Linked DNA regions of Homo sapiens: region 1 is linked to region 2. Evidence: promoter capture Hi-C in 16 types of primary human blood cells and fetal thymus (Javierre and others, 2016). All regions are on one chromosome and are shown on one strand. The core of a region is centred on a gene start or on the middle of the fragment in contact, and the rest is flanking DNA. Distances in the headings are between cores, read along the strand shown. Region 1 holds the start of TRAF4 (TNF receptor associated factor 4). Region 2 overlaps FAM222B (family with sequence similarity 222 member B).

The links. Contacts are between HindIII fragments. The CHiCAGO score rates a contact against its expected background, and 5 or more counts as called.
Region 1: the fragment with the promoter of TRAF4 here is called in contact with a fragment that was not itself captured in region 2 in 1 of 17 cell types (fetal thymus); the score reaches 5.4 in fetal thymus.

Annotation. Positions count from the first base shown.
Region 1 is chr17:28,742,724-28,745,423 of GRCh38, forward strand. It overlaps TRAF4 (TNF receptor associated factor 4), which reads left to right and starts at 1,288. Exons shown (of 7, transcript NM_004295.4): 1 at 1,288-1,532. The coding sequence starts at 1,390. It overlaps NEK8 (NIMA related kinase 8), which reads left to right. Exons shown (of 15, transcript NM_178170.3): 15 at 1-732. RefSeq lists enhancers at 364-1,364, 388-682 and silencers at 388-682, 1,137-1,546, 1,567-1,766. The HindIII fragment of the contact is 4,112 bases long and covers 1-2,700 here.
Region 2 is chr17:28,808,372-28,811,192 of GRCh38, forward strand. All of the region lies in intron 1 of FAM222B (family with sequence similarity 222 member B), which reads right to left. Among named protein-coding and RNA genes, the nearest start is that of FAM222B, 33 kb to the right of the region's middle. RefSeq lists an enhancer at 370-1,311. The HindIII fragment of the contact is 1,922 bases long and covers 485-2,406 here.

The DNA.
Region 1 (2,700 bases), core at 38-2,537, 66 kb before region 2:
GAGACCAGCCTGGGGACCATAGCGAGACCGCTGTCTCCACCAAAAAAAAAAAAAAAGAAGAAAATAAGGCTGGGTGCGGTGGCTCACGCCTGTAATTCCAGCACTTTGGGAGGCCAAGGCGGGCGGATCACTTGAGGTCAGTAGACTGAGGCCAGCCTGGCCAACATGGTGAAACCCCGTCTCTACTAAAAATACAAAAATTAACCAGGCATGGTGACGGGCGCCTGTAATCCCAGCTACTCTGGAGGCTAAGGCAAGAGAATCCCTTGAACCCGGGAGGTGAAGTTTGCAGTGAGCCGAGATCGCACCACTGCACTCCAGCCTGGATGACAGAGCAAGTCTCCCTCTCAAAAAAAAAAAAAAAAAAAAAAAAAAAAAAGTATTTGGTGCTTACCGGGACTCTATCTCCATACTTTGGAGCAGGGCAAGCCAGGGCCTGCCTGGACTGGCCATTAGGCCTGCCTAGCTTCTGCATAGCCCGGGGCTGGGCGGTCCCCGGGAGTGCTGCCACCTCCCCTACACTTTCATCCTGAGGCAGGATTTGCTAGACGTCGGCTTGCCTCTCTTCCCCAGCAGGAGGGCAGGAGTCACTAAGTGCTGCAGAAAAGATCCGCGCTGGAGATTGCCCGTCCCCCCCATGCCTTTCCCCAGAAACAGTTGAGAGAATGGGTAGCTGGTGGGACCAGACCGGTTTCCCAGAGGACAGGAAGGCCAATAAAAATATCAGCTGCCTGCCTGGAGTGTGGTGTCTTCAAGGGTGGGGGTGGCGACCAGGCACCCCAGGACTGGGCTGGGCCCGACCTCGGTGGCAGGGCTGCGGCCAAGGGAGGAATGTGGGCGCAGCCGGAGGCTGGGGCCGAGGTTCCTCTGGCCCAGCGCCCAGTCCAGCCTCCCCGCCCCAGCTGGGCTCCCCGGAGCTGGTTGCCAGGCTTCGGCTGCCTAGCACCTGGAAGCTGGGGCCACGGTTCCTGGGCTGCTCACGGCCCCGGAGGCCGAGCTGTTGCCTCTGGAGAAGAAAACCTTTGTGGCGCGGCCCGTCCCCTTTTCCGACCCGCACTTCCCCGGGGCCCGCGGGCTCTGGGGAGAAGCGGAGCCACGATCTCTGTCCCCCAGGGGAAAGAAAAGCCCATGATCCCGTGGGTGGGCGAGACTGGCGGTCACCAGACCCAAAAACCATGCACTCGGGGGTGGGCGGGGCCGCGAGGGCGCGCATTAGGACCGCGCGGCCGCGGTCCGCCCTCTCTTCCGGAGGGCGGGCTTCACAGCCGAGCCCTGGCCGCGACCGCCAGTCGGCGCCGCCCGGAGCCGGGAGCGCCGCTCCAGCGAGGCGCGGGCTGTGGGGCCGCCGCGTGCCTGGCCCCGCTCGCCCGTGCCGGCCGCTCGCCCGCCATGCCTGGCTTCGACTACAAGTTCCTGGAGAAGCCCAAGCGACGGCTGCTGTGCCCACTGTGCGGGAAGCCCATGCGCGAGCCTGTGCAGGTTTCCACCTGCGGCCACCGTTTCTGCGATACCTGCCTGCAGGAGTTCCTCAGGTGCTGGCCGGGGAGCAGGGGACAGCGGGGGCGGGGCGGGGCGGGGGGCGCCGCCTGGGGAGGGTCTCGGGCCCGGGGCAAGGCGGGCCTTTGTCTGCGCTGCGACCCTGTGACCTCAGGGGCGCCCCGTGACGTCACGGGGAGGGATGACGTCAAGCCCCGAGGGAGGCCCCCCCCGCAGGAATCCGAGGGGTCCGGGCGGGTCCCAACTGCCCGGCCCGGGGCGGAAGACCTCGGCGCCTTCTCGTGGGGTCAGGAGGGGAAGAGGCCCTTCCCCGTCACCTGAGAGCCGGCGCGGCCTCAGCCTTGAACTTTGAATCCTGGGGGAAGAGGACAAAACCCGCTCCCGCGTGGCAGTTTGAGCCTCCGGAGCTTTCCCCCATCTAACCTCTTCTGATTCTTCGAACGTTCAGAGAACGGTAGCTATTGTTCTCCCATTTCACAGATCATGAAACGAGATTCAAAGAAAGGCTGCGACTTGCCCAGGGTCACATAGTTACTTAAAGGCTTAACTAGGATTTAAACCCGGACTGCTTATGATCACACAATGGAGGAAGGACTGAATCCTCCCCCGAAGAAGGACCCCTCTAGGCGGCTCCCCTCTCTCCCGGGGGCTGGAGTAAGGCGGGTGGTCCATAAGTCATGAAGAAGGGGGTCGCACTCGTGTTGTTACTGAACTCCCGCTGCCCTCTCAGGACGCAGGTTAGCCCTTGGCTCTTGGGCATCCATCAAGTTTCTGGGCGCCCTGTATGTCTTGAATCTCCTGCTCACGCAGGGAACCCCTCAGGCCCGGGTGTGGGAAGCAGGGTGAAGGAGCCCCGACTCTTCGGAGGTCATGCCCCCAGAGCGCAGGGGAAGGCCGAGTCGGCCACTGCCTGGCTGTTTGCTGGGACGAGGGGATCGAGGGCCTGGCAGGGATAGTACCTCTGAGACGCCTGCCTCCGGTGCTCCCTCCCGCCGTGCCTCCCTCCCTCGCTCGGTCCTCCGTAGCTCCTACTGGCGGAAATCTCAGCAGGCCCTTTGTTTTCTGTTCCCCACAGCCTGGGCCGGCTCCTGCCCTCACATATGCTCCGGCACAAGCTGCAGGACTGCCCCCTCCCCCTCGGCAGTGTACACATTTACTCTCCTACAGACACAGCCCCATTGTCTCCGCCACTGCTCTTCCCCG
Region 2 (2,821 bases), core at 196-2,695:
ACTGAACAACACACATGCATATCCAACAAGGATTCTTAAAGGACAGTATCATTAGAAAGACAGCTCTGGCCTTCACTGAGAACAGACTGTAAACTACTAAGGGTTAAACTGATTGAGAGAAAATTTGCCTAAGCAACCATTCTTTAGGAAGAGTTCAGTAACTCACCAACAATAAATTCTACATCCTCATCTGAGTGGTAAACAGATTACAGACTCCATCAAGTCCTCTACTTTCAGGATTCAGACTCATAGCAAACAACTTCCTCAAAAGATTCAGCTTCCAAGAGTCAAACCCTGGGGGAGGGGATTGTGCTTAAACACACAAAATATTGTCTCTGACACCTGACTGAAAAAGCTGAAAAGCTAAAAACTACCATCACCCACATCTCCATATGAATGCATCCATTGTTCTAAATAAGTCTCTGACAATTGACAGAGCATTCTCAGAGTCTCCTGTGCCTCTAATATTTTCTCACCTAGAGTAAGCTTTTCCCAATTCCAAACCTTACAACACTCAAGCTGATTATTCTGAGAATCAAGCAATGCCAAGGGCCCAATATTTTTCTTTCACCTTCTCAAGGGGATCATTTTATACTTCTGATGTGAACAGGGGATTAGTCTCGAGTCTCCCTTTAGAGAGAACATAGAGTCCTTTTTCTTAACACATTCCAAGCCGTGACTCACAGAAATAAGCAGGATGGGCCGGGCACGGTGGCTCATGCCTGTAATCCCAGCACTGTGGAAGGCCGAGGCAGGTGGACCATCTGAGGTCAGTTTGAGACCACCCTGGCCAACATGGTGAAACCCTGTCTCTACTGAAAATACAAAAATTAGCCAGGCGTGCTGGTGCGTGTCTGTAGTCCCAGCTACTCAGGAGGCTGAGGCAGGAGAACTGCTTGAACCTGGGAAGCAGAGGCTGCAGTGAGCAGAGAGATTGTGCCACTGCATTCCAGCCTGGGTGACAGAGCGAGACTCCGTCTCAAAAAAAAAAAAAAAAAGAGAGAGAGAGAGAAATGAAATAAGCAGGTTGGATAAAAACAGACTGCTAAAGAAAATTAAATCAACTGCTTTAACCTCAACCAGCACTATGCCCCCTCAACCTAAGAGATTATGGCTTTCTATAATTGTTTCCTTGCAGATGACCAAATTCCAGGATTTCCATGCCCCTTAAATGATATTTGAACATCAGTGCAAATACATTTATGATTAGTTCTATACATAGTCTTCTGTCTCCTGGGAAAATTCTTTCACGAACCCCTAATTATTGCACCATGCAAAACAGTGATCACACAAATCAGTCAAAAAAATAGAAATATCGGGCGTGGAGGGGTGCAGTGGCTCACACCTTAATCCCAACACTTTGGGAGGCCTCTGGGAGGGCTGCTTGAGGCCAGGAGTTTGAGACCAACCTGGGCAACAGAGCCAGACCCTATTCTCTACAAAACATAAAAATTAAAAAATAGTAATATAAAAAAGTGAGTGAAGTATAACTTTATAAAGCTGTACTTACTGCTCACCCATGGGTAGAGAACATAAAAACCACCCAGATATCAAATAGAAGGGCAAACTTGTTTTTTGACAGAAGCAAGTTGAAATTGTACAGCCTCCAACTGGTTTTTTTTTGTTTTTGTTTTTGTTTTTTTGAGACAGGGTCTCACTGTGTCACCCAGGTTGGAGTGCAGTGGTACAACCTTGGCTCACTGCAACCTCTGCCTCCCGGGTTCCAGCAATTCTCCCACCTCAGCCTCCCAAGCAGCTGGGACTACAGGAGTGCACCACCACGCCCAGCTAATTTTTTTATGTTTTGGTAGAGACGGGGTTTTCACCATGTTGGTCTTTAACTTCTGACTTCAAGTGATCCACCCACCTCAGCCTCCCAAAGTGCTGGGATTACAGGAGCAAGCCATTGCACCCCGCCTTCCAACTGGTTTTTTTGGTCACTTCCCCAGCTTCCTATACCTTAGATATCAAAGTGCACTTTGTTTTATATACTAGCTAACTCTGTTTTATATACTAGCTAACTTTGTTTTATATACTAGCTAACTTTGTTTTACATACTAGCTAACTCTGTTTTATATACTAGCTAACTTTGTTTTATATACTAGCTAACTTTGTTTTATATACTAGCTAACTTTGTTTTATATACTAGCTAACTCTGTTTTATATACTAGCTAACTGTAAAGGCTTCAATCAGTGATTTTTAACAGTTCACTCTCAGTAGCAAGTTAACTAGTCAACATCTGGGGGATCCCCTTTCCCTCCCAATTTAAATACAACTCATGGAGCCTTAAGGGACAAGTGAGTAATAAAAACCCAAAACCTGACACAGGATTACTGTGAATCTACTTTTTAGTAACATGTCTATTCTAAGGTATTTGAAATCTTCTTTTTAAAAAAGGTAAAGTAAGCTTCGTAATCCCTATTACTTTCCACAGCTGAAATGGTTTCCTATCCCATTATCCCTATTTTTTATAATACTTGCTTTCATCCCAAATTGCTCCTAATTGTCTAGAGATCTAATAAATCAATGCAAAGAAAAAAATCACTAATCTAGCCAAAAGTGTAAGACAGCTCCAGTGTATCAATTCTGTCTTCAAAAGTGGACCCCAGTTACAACAATCGTGGGAAACTGAACCTGTATTACATAAACTCTGAACCATTTTAATTAATATTTATCAAAGTGTTGCCAAAAAAAAAAATATTCATCCCTTTTGGTACTGTAGCTCTTTGCTAATCAACATTAAGATAAACCTGCTCCAAACACGTTTCGTTGAAAATGCCCATTTAGGCCAGGCGCGGTGGCTCACGCCTGTAATCCCAG